Regions from separate parts of the Homo sapiens genome. Here region 1 is linked to region 2. The links are contacts of gene promoters, found by promoter capture Hi-C in human tissues and cell types (Jung and others, 2019). All regions are on one chromosome and are shown on one strand. The core of a region is centred on a gene start or on the middle of the fragment in contact, and the rest is flanking DNA. Distances in the headings are between cores, read along the strand shown. Region 1 overlaps LOC107986930 (a long non-coding RNA gene). Region 2 holds the start of STC1 (stanniocalcin 1).

What was found. The method cuts DNA at HindIII sites, captures the fragments that hold promoters and counts their contacts. A contact is called where the count stands out against the background at its distance.
Region 1: a fragment that was not itself captured here is called in contact with the fragment with the promoter of STC1 in region 2 in 2 of the 25 tissues and cell types used here (liver and thymus).

What each region holds. Positions count from the first base shown.
Region 1 is chr8:23,769,968-23,777,292 of GRCh38, reverse strand. The region is part of intron 3 of LOC107986930 (a long non-coding RNA gene); the gene reads right to left. Among named protein-coding and RNA genes, the nearest start is that of NKX2-6, 67 kb to the right of the region's middle. The HindIII fragment of the contact is 7,348 bases long and covers 1-6,521 here.
Region 2 is chr8:23,850,281-23,857,090 of GRCh38, reverse strand. It overlaps STC1 (stanniocalcin 1), which reads left to right and starts at 2,285. Exons shown (of 4, transcript NM_003155.3): 1 at 2,285-2,685; 2 at 4,707-4,849; 3 at 5,560-5,771. The coding sequence starts at 2,568. The HindIII fragment of the contact is 6,962 bases long and covers 1-4,277 here.

The DNA of each region.
Region 1 (7,325 bases), core at 1,598-4,097, 80 kb after region 2:
ATGTTACCAGAGGTTAACCCACTCATGAGTGGCAGAGCTGAGAACCCAGTGACTGTCAACTCTGTACTGCCTTGCCCTGCTCCTCTAGATCAGTCACTGGGACCCCAGGTCCTTCATTCTCTCCCTTCCCCCACTAGGAGCATCCTGTTTCTCCAAACATAGTAGCCAGGGGGCTTCACTGTCTTTCTCTCCTCTCAAATCAAAGCCTGCCCTCCAATGCTCTTTTCCTGCAAGTGTGTTAAATACTAGTAGATATTGTCTGTCCAGCAGGTTATATAAAAGAGTTATATTATTTAGCTCTTTTATATATTAAAGAGCTAAATAATATAACTCTAAAGTCCGTTTTAAATATCAAGCTGGAGCAAGGAAAAAGTCCTCTGAAATCACACCGTATATTCCTCCTTTCATTAAAACTCACTTTGCCCTATTGCCTAAAGATTAAGATTTTAGAGCAAACTTGTCAATTCCAGGAGGGCGCTCTCTCTCTCTTGTTCCCTTCCTTTGGTCCCAGCACCTAATGCATTTCCAAGCACATTGCAGGACCTCAGTAAATACTTGCTGAGTTAATTAATGAATATCAATAGCCAACCACCTTCTGAAATGTTCTACAGGCCTGATGTGTAATTCCAAAGCCCACTTGACTTACAGATACTGAGCCCCCCAGGAAGGGGAGACCTGAGCTAGGGAAAGTTTCTTGTAAGTTGAGGCTCCAGATTTATACAAAAGAAAGAAAAGTTCAAAAAACTTCTCATTAAACTTTGGAATTCATTCACATAGTCAATAAGCATCTATTAAAGCCTTCCATGAAGAGGCACTGTGAGAGAGACTGAGTGAGCTGAGATGAATAAAACACGGCCCGTACCCTCAAGAAACCCACAGGCTACTCTGCAATACAGGCACATTAACAGATAATTGTGTCAAAATGAAGTAGGACTTCTCCTCCCCCATCCTATGGAAAGGATATTTTAAAACTATGAGAAATCTAATTAAACCTGTTACTGGGCCAGGCATGGTGGCTCATACGTGTAATCCCAACACTTTGGGAGGCTGAGAGAGAATCACTTGAGGCCAGGAGTTCGAGACCAGCCTGAACAAGATACGAAAACCCCATCGCTACGAAACATTTTTTGAAAAATTAACTAGGTGTGATGGCTCAGCCTGTTAACAACTGGCTGAGGCTTAAGGGCATTGGTAGCCACCAGGGTGGAATGGAATACTCATCACGAATGATAGGTTTTCTTGCTTTGCAATAGGCTGAGTCAATCACACCAGGAGAAGAAATAGTCTTTCCTCAAGCCTCAACTGTGTTGCCTGCCTTTATAAGGTGAGCTTGAGTTTAGTTAAAACTTGTAGAGAGATCACACTGAAATTAGAGCACCCACCTCCATCCTTATTTTGAGAATCAAAGTCCAACTCTACCCAGCCACAGGCAGCAATGAAAATTGGGACAAGTCCCATCAACATTCAGCCAATGCAAGAGGCATTCAGATATGTAAGGTGCAGGGGTTGGGGGCGTACACTTTGTATGGGGAACCGTGGAGTTTTCTGTGAAAGGTAATGGAGAAAAGGAAGAGAAAACAGATCAGAAAACAGGGAGCACCACCTGAGATGTCCACTTTTCAAAGACCTCCATTTGTAATGCCCTCCCTGGGCAGGCACAAGGGAACAAGCACATTAGATACAGATATCGTCTCCATTCAGTTCACCCTCTTTTGTTCTTTTGACATCTACACAGCCCCTCAAAAAATGACATATTCCTCCACTGTCAGAGTTGGGTCTGAAGAAGACTGGAAAAACTCTAGGAAGACATAGGAACTGCTCCTCAATCATGCTGCAGAGCCAAGGCTGGAGAGGCATCCATTTCTTACCCTTCAATCAGCACCTCTCTAAAGGCAAAGTCACCATTGATTAGCAACAGCTGCCTAGAAAAGCCCATGTCCAAAAGGCAGTAAATTCCCAGGTAATCCTTCATGCATTAAGAACAAGAATTAAAAGGCATGAAAAGTGAGGATCCCCCTACATGTGGGTTATAAAAAATATTATAATAGACACAGCAATGAAGATGTCAATAATAACTGCTATTTACTGAGTACTTAATATAGGCCCTGACACTACACGTACATTATTTAAGATCATCCTTCCACTATCCCCATAAATGAAATATCATTATCCCCAATACATAAATGGCAAAACTGCAGCTCAAAATTGGAAAATACTTTTCCCAAGGCCCCAGTGCTGCCTCTTATATCCAGGTCATGCTTCCTCTACAGTCCTTATTCTTTTCATTACATCACAGTGCTCATGTGTTGGCAGACTTTGGAGGACTCTGAGCAGAAGCTGTTTAAGGGCTCCAGGAAGGCTTCCCAGAGGAGGTTTCACCTGACCTGGGTCCTAAAGGGTGAGTATGAAATAGTCAAAGAAAGGGCAGGAAGAGGAAAGGCACCATCTTCACCAAGAGGACCATCTAAGCAGAAGAGTGATGTAAGCTGGAGCCCAGCAGGAGCTGAGAATGCTGAGGCCACCAGTGTTGTTAGAGCATAAACGTGAGACGGGCAGGCAGGAAGAAAGGGCAGAGGAGGCAGAGAGATCTGGAGAGGCTGGTTTGTGCTGGGCTTTGCATGCTGTTAGGAAGTCTGAACTTTCTCCTATAGACAGCATGGAGCTTTTGGAGGAGTTTAAGAAAGGGGAGTGATGTGATCAGATCAGCATTTTAAACACATCATCGTGGCAGATGTGTGAAGGGTAGATTGAATAGGAACAAGATTAGAGGCAGAGATAAGTCAGGAGACTGACAATAGTAAGGTGAAAAGTAATAAAGACTCAAACAGAATGTTTTTAATAGGAATGGAGATAAGAGACAAATCTAAAAATTAGAAAGAAAAGTTGGCAGGTCTTGGTGGTGATATAGATATTGCAGATAGGCGGGTGGGGGGTGGCATTCGGTGGTGCATGTGGCATTCAAATCACCAGAAACAGAGCTGGTTTAAGGAGAGAGTGAGTCCAGTGTTGGAGACATTGGGCTGAGGTGTCTGTGGGACCTTGAGTAGGATGTCTAGGAGGCAGCTGAATATACATGTCTGGGGGTCCCCATGGAGACCCGGAAGCTGCCAGCATGTAGGTCGTAATTGAGGTCATGGGTTTCGATGAGTTCTTCCAGGATGGAGGACCATGGGCTAAGGAGAGGACCCAAGAGAACACAAACAGTGAAAAGTTGGGCAGAAGGCCACATGCAGTGGCTCATGCCTGTAATCCCAACACTTTGGGAGGCCAAGGTGGATTGCTTCTTCCTAGGAGTTCAAGGCCAGACTTAACAGCATGGTGAAACCGTGTCTCTAGAAAAAATACAAAAAATCAGCCAGGTGTGGTGGCACGCACCTATAGTCCCAGCTACTTGGGAGGCTGAAGTCAGAGAATCACCTGAGCCCCAAAAGCTGAGGTGGCAGTGAGCCATGATCATGCCACTGCACTCCAGCCTGGGTGATGGGGTGAGATCCTGTCTCAAAAGAAAAAAAAAAAAAAGCTGGACAGAAGGTAGGGAGCTCCTGAAGGAAGTGTTAATAAATGGTTGGAAAGGAACTAGAAAAATCAGGAGACTAAGGAGTTCTGGAAGCCAGTGTATAACATTTTCAGAAGGTGAAAGTCATTCATAGTATTAGATTCGGAGGAAAGCTAGAGAAAACTCAGTACAAAAAAAAATCCTTCAGATATGGCTATTAGGGAGATGCTGTGACATCAAAAAAGCAGTGTCAGTCATGGTTTGCGAAGCGGTTAAGGGGGTTTCAAGGTCAAAGGAGAGTCAGGGGAACATCCGTATTATTAGGATGGGAAGGAAGTAACCATGTTTACAGACTGAGAGGAAGGAACTGCAAGGAGACAGAAAGATCAAGGATATTGGCCAAGGTAGGGAAAGAGATGGAGGGGTAGGTTAATGTATCAAAGTGATAGGAGCTGTGGTCAAAAGCACAGGCAAAGCAGCAAAGCAGGTGGCCATGGGCACGGAGCACAGGTGCACCCTGAGACGGCAGAAAACAGCAAGGAAACCAGAGCTGCAGGTACATTGGAAAAGATTCTGGGAAGATTTAAATATATTGAAGAAAATCATGCCCTTTGGTTTCCATTTTTCTTGACAAAGTAGAAAGCAAGCCTTCAGGCCTTTGTAGTGATGTTAATCCACAGAGTTGTGTGGTTATCTCCAGCAGGAGTCAGGAAACGGAATGATGGTTTGTGGGGAGACAAAATTCAACGTTGGCTTATTTGGGGATTTTGCAGCCAAGCAAAGTTGTGAGAAAGCCTAGAAGATGCATCTAGTGGCAGACAAAGAGTAACTTTAAGAAGCTCAATCTGGGGCAGTTCTGAGAGTCCCACTCAAGATACTGTCCTACAACTCCCAATGTGATTTTAGTCCTGGAGAAAGACAAGATTCTTAGAAGCACCTTGCACTCAAATAAGTTGAGCTTCATCATGCTAAGCAGACCCTGCTAGTTTTGGGTTGTCCTATAAAGAAGTATTAAATTGGGACAATTGGTAGGACTCCAGCTAGTTCAATGGCACAGGCATCTCCATGTTCCCTGGCACCTGTGGGGCTTATTTGCTTGTTTTGCATTTTGGGTGCTCCTAGGGGCTAGATTAGTCCATGTACCACGCCTTACCCTTCTCCCTACTGCTTTTGTAGCTTTATTTCTCTTCCAATAAAAGAAAATGTTTCAGCCTCAAAGCTTTTAAAACCAGTTAATTCCAGGGCTCTCAAAACCAGTTAATTCCAGGGCTCTCACCCTCTCCTCTTTGACCTTGGCCCATGCTCCTCTGCCTCCCTGCTGACTCAAAACCCCATGTATGCTACTGAAAGAGACTCTCTCCATCAGCTTGCCTTGACTAAAGCTCACCCTTCCCCAGCATCACTGCTTTCCTTTGTAGCTCTCTAGAACGGGGACTGCATGCATTCCTGTGCCCCATATACTAGAGCTGGAATATTCTCCCAGATCTTCATAGTCACATTGAAAGTCCCTCCCTATTGGCCCCCATGCTGTCTGGCTCTACCACTCACTGACTCTTCTCACAGTATTCATGTCCTGACCTCCCAGTAAATCCCATTATGGTCATCAAACTTCGGCAACTGAATCACTAGCTTCTTCCTCACCTTAAGCACTGCTGGCATCCTGTGGACAACGCTTCCAGCACCCTGGTTTCATTGTCCCAAGGTCAACTGCTCCACTAGCAAAATATTAGCCTCTTGGACCCTGGAGCCCACCTCCAGTGAAAACATCCCATCCTTGCAGCTTCCTCCCTCTTTTTTCCTACCCTACTCTCCAGCTTCATGGAGCACCCAGGCCCTTGAAGCCTTTCCTCCAAAGCTCTTCACCCTCCTCTGCTTCATCTCCACCCTTGTCCAGGCCAGACCCTAAGTGGAAGAATGTCAACCACTTCTCCCCATCACTCTCAACTCCCTTGTCCTGCCCTGAGCTACGCTGGTCCCTCAAGCTCCCAGGATCCCAACTATCCATGTTCCCCAGGATTACAGGACTTACTAAAGAAACATTACAGCTGGGGAGATTCGACATTCCCAATATATAGATTCCATTCTCAGCCAAACCCTCAGGTCTGCCAAGATATCCTGTTATATACCTGAGTCAGCTCTCTTTCCCCAGTCTCTGCAGTAATGATTCCAACTTTAATACTCTTTTCAAACCCTCTCCATAACAACATCTCCACTCTGAATAAGGTACTTGCCTCTTATTTCACCAAAAACAGGATGCCTCAGGCAAGATCTCCCTCGGCTTCCTAAGTGTTTCTGTACCTACCGCTTCTTCTCCAAACAGTGTTCTAAAGTTCATTCTTCCATCCACTTTTGCTTTAGAGACCATCCCTGAAACATTAATTCTCCCTCTTTTTCTGTATCTTCTATCTCTATCTTCCCTCAGATTTTAGCTTACAATTGCATTTAAGCCCCTCTCAACTTTAAAAAAAGAAAATAGTTACTGTGACTCAAGATCCCACTTCTAGATGGTGCTCTGCATAGCCAAGCTGTGCAAGAAATACTTTTCATTCATTTTTTAAATCAAAGGAATGCATAAGCATAGCTTTTGAAGTTAAATAATGCTGCAAGGCTTAACAAATTTTAAAGATATTTTTCCATAATCCTTGTTTTTCTAAATAACATATGTACATTATACTTTAACTTTTTATATTTAAATATTATATTTCCCTAGCATGGAAGATGAGGATCAAGCTCTCTCTACCAACTGCTCACCATCTCCCATCAGACATACAAACATCCCTTTCCCCCTTCCTTCATCCTCCCCATATTGTTATACCATAATTAGTGGTTAAATTATCAATCAATATTCACATGGATATGTCTATATATATATATATATCATACATTTAGTGTACTATGTTTTTCCTTGTACACATTTTGTTTTTACATATTTTTTCCTAATCTTTCTTTCCCTGTTCAGTCCCACACTTTCCAAAAGAACAGTAAAACTCTTCTCAATACAGTAAAACACACGAGGGAATCCACCGCTTAATATTTGTGTCTCCTATAATCCCTCCATCATCAGTTCCATATGGAAGGATTACTGCCTAGGCTGACTGTCCAGCTGTCATACTGAGGTTTTCCTTTGCTACCATCTGTTAATTTTTTCTTTGCTTCTCCCAGTTTTAGAGACCCCGATTCCTAGATTCTAAGTCTTTCTATTTCTTGGTTTATATCCTTGTTTCGGTGGATTGCATCCTACAGTAGCTTTCTGAAAACAAGTGCAGGGAAAGAACATCTTTTGAGATCTTGCAAGTCTACTCTCACTCTTGAATGGTCATTTTGTTAGGACTAGGACTCTAGGTTGGAAATCATTTTCCCTCAGAATGTTGAAGGCACTGCTGCACCATTTCCAAACTGTAGAGATGTGTATGATATTCTGATTCTTGGTCCCTAGTATATAACCTGTTCCTCTCTGGTAGCTTTTACAAACTACTCTTTATCATTCGAGTCCTGATATTTCACCATGATGTACTTTATGTGTGAATTGTTTTTCATCTATTATGCTAGGCACTCACTTGCTCTTTCAGTTTGGAAACCCAGGTCTTCAGAAGACTTGAAAACTTTGTTCTCATTTATTTGATAACTAACCCCTTCTACTTTCCATTTTCTCCTTCTGGGCTCTTACTGGTCAGATGTTTGAGCTTTTGGACTGATTTTCTCATCTTTTCTACTTTCCATCACTTTATCCTTCTTTCTACTTCTGAGACATTACCTTTCCTCAGCATTATCTATTGGCCTTTAAAATTTCTACAATCTGCCAGGCATGGTGGCTCATGCCTATAATCTC
Region 2 (6,810 bases), core at 1,036-3,535:
CTGGTGGTAAATCATCACCCTACCAAGCCAAGCAGACCAACTCAGGGAAAGCCCAAGAGAAACAAATGGCACTGCCTTAGATGATGAATAATGGCCAAGGAGGTAGAGAATGCTAAAGAACAGAAGTCAAGACCCTTGGGAGGAATACGCATCTGTCCTCTTACTCCCTTTCTGGAAGAGAGCACTGAGAAATTCTATTGCCTTGCCTGGCATCTACTACTTCTAACTAAAGCAATACAAATAACCTTGAAGCTTTCCACAATACAAGCTTTGTTTTTTAAAAATGAAATAGCATAGCTTTTCCTAAATTCTTAAAAAGCAACAACAGCAGTTTACATCTTTCCCCACTGATCTTTCCCTCAAGAGCTTTCCCCCCATCTCCAGCCAGTGCTGCCTGAGCCTGTGTCTTACTATATGAGGTCCTGACATCCCGAACCTTTAGGAAGTATGACTGTGGCTGGTCATCTTCCCAACTCACCTGTAAGTACCTTCAGGACAAGAATAATGAACTTACCTTCTTCTCTATGTCTTCTCATTTATCCTCCCACATTGTCCCCTAGCACTCAGCCCAGAAGGTTCTAAAGAAATACCAATACTGCCTGTTAATATAAATTAAAATGTATTCTTGTTATATAATGTAAATCTGAAAATTCCCTTCCTTTCTTTTAGATATTTCCTGTATCCTTTATTCCTTCTATTCCTTTTTCTAGCAAACTTTCATACTTACCAAACAACCCTATTTTGTGAGGGATAGGCTATCATCACCCAGAACCGTCCGCCGCCCCCCCCCCCCCGCCCCCCACCACCCTATCACCCCACAACATACACAGAGCTGACACTTGGTTTAGTTTGTGGTTAACAGGGGTGGCACTCTTTCTTCAACTTTTGTTTGAAGGTTTTAGGATGCAAAGTAAAGCCACTGGCCCCATTTCTCTGCAAGATTATCCTGCCCAAATCTGTATGAATCACCAGTGGCCATTTCTCATCTACTTCCCCAAAATTATTAAAGGTTTTATTGTATAATACCTTCACCACCTTCCTACCCTAAGAAGTCCTCTTCTGGCTCATTAACCTCCTTCACATGTTGGGGACAAACCTCAGCATTGCCTACAACTCACTTATAAGAAAATATAAGTTTCTATACCAGGCATGATTTGTGATTGCAGTGCAATTTTCCTATTAAGTCTAGAGCTTATCATTCTTCTCTCCTACACATTCTGGTCTTTCTCTACCCCTTCTTTCCATTCTGCCCCCTTTTTTCCTACCCCTCTCCCCAAGAAATGAACTGGTTTCCATTCAGCAGGTTTAGTCTTGCTTTGGCCAGCTTATTGTTTCAAAGTGGTTATAAAGTTGCTGGGCTTGAACACAGATTATTAATTTTCAGGCATTCATGATGTCTCCCTGTTGAGTGTGGTATGTGCAGGTGTGCACATGTGTACCTGGGGTAACTAACACTCCTGGACTATGCAATTTTGCTGGTGACTGAAAAGATGAAGTCAAAGTTGATTTGATTATTGAAGAATCACATTATTTTAGAGGTATACAGAATGTCAGAGTCCAACTTTGGCGTTTTACAGATGGGAAAACGAGGTGGGGCAAGGTAAAAAGACTTAGCCAGAGTCATAGGTTGATCAGTAGGGGGACTAAGGCTTCAGCTCTGAGCTGTCATATCTCAGTCCCCCAAGGCTTTTCCACTCACATAAATTCCCCCTCAAGGGCTCAAATGTGTGAGTGAGAACCCAGGATGTCCACATACAAACAAAAATGCATCATAGACATGTGAACATGTACACACAGAGAAGATAGGGAGTTATTGCATTTGTAGCCTACAAAACAGAACCGAGAATGTGCTGTTAAAATTAGAGTAAAACTGCTGTAAGCAGGTTAAGTTCTCATCTAAAGAGATCACATTTCCCCACCATACCCCTGCTATCCATTTCCCCCAAGTGGCTCATTAGAAAAAAAGATGGCTAGATTTCAAAAAGCAACTTGGAGAGATTTCTATAGGATTTTTCTTTAGTTCAATCAATACAGAGTTATCTCTTACTTCCACGAAAATAGCTTTTTCACACATCTCTGCACACACAGTCACACACACATATAAAACATTGGCAGCAGGTACTTTTAATTTGCTGGAAAATATTTCTAAGAAGTCAAAAAGCTCCAGCTGAATTGCATGCCCTCTTATTGGCTCACCAGACCAGTTGAGGGACCTGATTGGTCCTTGATCCTGAGGACCGATAAGAACGGCTATAAAATCCCTGGGTGCAGCTCTTGGGCCCCCAGTTTGCAAAAGCCAGAGGTGCAAGAAGCAGCGACTGCAGCAGCAGCAGCAGCAGCGGCGGTGGCAGCAGCAGCAGCAGCGGCGGCAGCAGCAGCAGCAGCGGAGGCACCGGTGGCAGCAGCAGCATCACCAGCAACAACAACAAAAAAAAATCCTCATCAAATCCTCACCTAAGCTTTCAGTGTATCCAGATCCACATCTTCACTCAAGCCAGGAGAGGGAAAGAGGAAAGGGGGGCAGGAAAAAAAAAAAACCCAACAACTTAGCGGAAACTTCTCAGAGAATGCTCCAAAACTCAGCAGTGCTTCTGGTGCTGGTGATCAGTGCTTCTGCAACCCATGAGGCGGAGCAGAATGACTCTGTGAGCCCCAGGAAATCCCGAGTGGCGGCTCAAAACTCAGGTAAGCAGCAAACCCAAGAGCGGTTTCTCCCCCAAAGAGCTGTCCTCATTTGCCTCTCCCTTTTGCAACTGTGTCTGTGACGGCTGATCTTGATAATAAATGTGCTTCATGCCTGATGGCAATAAACTGCCAGTGTAATCCAATAGCCTTAGGCAGTGGAGCTCCTTTGTTTAATAAATTGCATGCAACTAAACGAAGAAGCTGGACGCTCTGCTGAGGGTATTTCATTGCATAAGCCTAGCCTGATTGCCTGAAATCTGGCACGTACCCTCTTGGAGGGGGAGGGGTGAGAGGGGAGGAAAGGCTTGAATGTTGGCATGCTTCAAAGCGCTCTCTATACTTTCCAGAAGCTGATCTAAGGTAAGACCTGGCTTGTTTGATGCTGTCCCTCTTCCTTTCCTCTTAAGACTCTACCTCTTCACTTCTTGACTTCTCTACCTAAGAGAATACACAGAAAAGCTCCCTCTTCAGACTGATTTTCAGAACCATAGCCCTCAAGTCTGACAAATCCAGGGCGGATTCAGAGAAAACCCTATACATCCCACCCCCAACCCTGCTGCCTGTCTCCCTCCTGGCTCTGTAGGGCTCCATTCAGTCGTCCCTGCAGCCCGTAGCCAGAGAGCCCCTAGAAAAAAAAAATTGTGAAACGTAGCAGCTGTTTCTCCAAGGGTAAGGTCTCACTTTCGTCTTGACTCTTGGAGCAGTTAATTGTGCATTATCTTGGCTTCTGAAGGAAAAGAATCATTAGGAAGCCTGCATTGACACCTCTGCCTCTTGACTTCTCTGGCTCCACTTGTTCCCCTTCCAATACTGCCCTCTGTCCTCCAACTGTCAGCAAAGACCGGATCACAGGTGTCAAAATGCTGCAGATGATGATCCCCTTGGAAGAGCACAGGTCCCTGCCGAGAGGAGGGCTTTTGCTTCACTTCCTTTTGTACTTAGTTGCTATAGAGATGCAGTGATTCACAATTCGAGCTTGCCTAAAACAATAGCAGCCCTAATGCATATTAAAACTGCTTAAAGCAAAGTTATAATTTAAACCCGTGGAAATATATAATTAGGGAAATGACTTGTAACATCCTAGAGGCTGCGGGTGGTGGGAGGGGGTGGGGAAGACTAACTGAACCATGCTTTTGATCTCAGAGGAGAATCCTATGGCATGAAGGCTGCAGATCATTCCTTGCCTAGCTGCCTGCCAGAACACCCCCCTTCTGTGGGAGAAAAATTACTTTTATGGGAGATCTTATCCAGAATGTAGAAAGCCTCATGCAAGTTTTTTGCGGTTTTCTTCCAGTCTTGCATAGGGAGGCCTTGGCCTGGTTATTCCACACCTGTGTTTCTTCTTTCTTTCTTTCTTTCTTTCTTTCTTTTTTAAAAGGCTTTTAATATGAAAGAGATTATGCATACCTCTAAGCACTGTCCTAGTGGAGGGTTGGGGTGAAACATGAACGGATCAGATTTCTTTTTGCCAATATGACGGTAAGTTAAAAGCCTGAAATCAGAAGGGTCTCCAAGTGGACTCCTGGCACAGTCTTCTCTGCCATTTAGACTAAAATCCCATGCTTTTTACTCGGGAGTGCATTTTTCCAAAGCTAGATGGATTCCCTGGCCCTTTTACCTCTTAAACCTGACCACTAGCCACTGTCTCCTTCCTTCCCATGCTTTCAAGTGCTAAGCAATGACCTTTGATTCTATGGAATGGCTTAAAGGCACTGTGCATTTCCAGACTTGAGCCTCACTTCTCCAGACACCAAAATTGTAGGTAATGGTGAAACAGGGAGCGTGTGTCTGAAACAGAGAACTCCCTCCCTGTCCATCATGTACTCCAGCAATCATAAACAAAAGGAGCCTGTCTATCCTCTCTTTCTCAATCAAATGGGTCTATCAATTGCCCCTCATGACAGATTCCTAGGATAAGTTCTTCTGACCTCATGTCCTTGAAATTCACCTCTGCACCCACTTGATCCCACCCAGCCATTCCTCACTGTTTGACCCAGAATGGATGGATTTGTCTCTTTCAGCTGAAGTGGTTCGTTGCCTCAACAGTGCTCTACAGGTCGGCTGCGGGGCTTTTGCATGCCTGGAAAACTCCACCTGTGACACAGATGGGATGTATGACATCTGTAAATCCTTCTTGTACAGCGCTGCTAAATTTGACACTCAGGTAATAAAACCTTGACCCCTGCTCCCACTGGCTGCTTGTCTTTAACAGTGTGTTAGACCATGGTTCTTAGGAACCAGTCTTGTAGGGAACCAGCCCTGCTTCTCAGCTTCCCCACTCTAAATTCCCATCTCAGCATGTGTATGCACAAGTGTGTGCATGCACACACACACACACACACACACACAGAGGCACTCATCTGGCCAGGAAATAGGTTCTGTATAAGACACGCCCCACTCACTCTAATGCATGATTCTAAGGAGCTAGTAGAGGCTGTCTTATAAGGCCAGGGGTAATAAGCCAAAAAGATTTTCCTCTGTAAGAGGACATAAAAACGTGCATAGAGCAAGGAAGTTCTCTCTGCATGACCTAGCATACTAGCTTTTGATCTGAATTCTCAAAGTCTCAATCTCAAGAATATGAAGTCAGATTACGACTATTTTTAAGCTGCAGAATGGTTGATCACGGTTCATCTTTTTTTTCTGTAATTTCATTTCGGTAGAGCTTAATTCTCAAGGGAATCCAGGGAGATGGGGAGAGGGCTTTTTTTTTTTTCAATCCTTAGCCGAGACATGCAATCTTCTCATTGCAAGGATATGCAGATGGCCATGATACGTTGCCCAGATGAGCCCCCTTAAATTCCTCCATGTATATGCCCATCCTCTTTGTCAGGTCAAGCTAAAGACCTCCCTCTTGTCCTTCCTCCATGGCAGGGAAAAGCATTCGTCAAAGAGAGCTTAAAATGCATCGCCAACGGGGTCACCTCCAAGGTCTTCCTCGCCATTCGGAGGTGCTCCACTTTCCAAAGGATGATTGCTGAGGTGCAGGAAGAGTGCTACAGCAAGCTGAATGTGTGCAGCATCGCCAAGCGGAACCCTGAAGCCATCACTGAGGTCGTCCAGCTGCCCAATCACTTCTCCAACAGGTACAAACTGAGTCTACTTTTTCACAATCAGGGGACTGGGAGCAGGTGGCTGGCTGGCAGAGCCAGACTGGGAGGGAGGGTTAAATTGCCACAGTCATGCTCTTATTTTAGCTTGCAGTCTTCCCAGCTTTTGCAGGAAAAAAATATGTTTGTGATTGGTTGTGACAGTTTAAGCAGCTTGGGCTTTTTTTTCCCTACTGTTATAGGAAAAGTCTTTTCATGCAGCTCATAGAAAGCCAGCCTCATCTGCAGCATCCCTGGGTGCTTTCATTGACCATTTTTTGCCATAAGCCTGAAGGGAATGGTGAAGTTTCTGGAAACAAGCTTTTAAGACATCAGATTTGGCTGAAACCATGACCGTGCAACAACACAATTGGCCATGATTAAAAAAAAAAAAAAAAAAAAAAGCCCTCTGGTTAAATGTCATAATGCAGATTTTAAGTCTCCATCTATTTCAAATCAGTCCCAAACACAGTCAGAGATTTCACTGGGTAGCCCAGAGCAAGCCATCTCACTTCCCTGGGGCTCAGATTTCCTTTGTAAAAAGCAAAATGGCTGGACTGGACCATTTTCAGGTTTCCTTCCAGGCCTTATGTTATCCCATTCCTCTAGCCCAAGATTTCCTAGAATGAGTGTGTTTTATGGCTGTCCAGATCCCATTCTCATCTTAGTATTCAAACACCACCCAAGGCCACTGAGCTAGTACAGTAACATCTGGGCATTGTACTTTTCAGTGTTTTTACCAGCCAGGAGTGAATTCCTGTTACATGAGACAGCTGGCATCCTCAGTTCATGTGCGTGGCCTGGAAAGGTTCCCAGCAAGAACTAAGAGATGCCAATGGGGTTGGCGTGGAGGTCTGGCAGGGGCAGTGCAGACCGGTCAAGTTTAGCCCCCTGTGATATCCCTCAGCCTAAAAACTTGACTCCCAGCCTTGAATTTCTATGATTCTTTGACTCTCCACTCAAATCTGCACATATCCACAATGATCAGTGCTTTGCATGTTACTCTGACCACCTGAGAGTTATCACAGGCTTATCT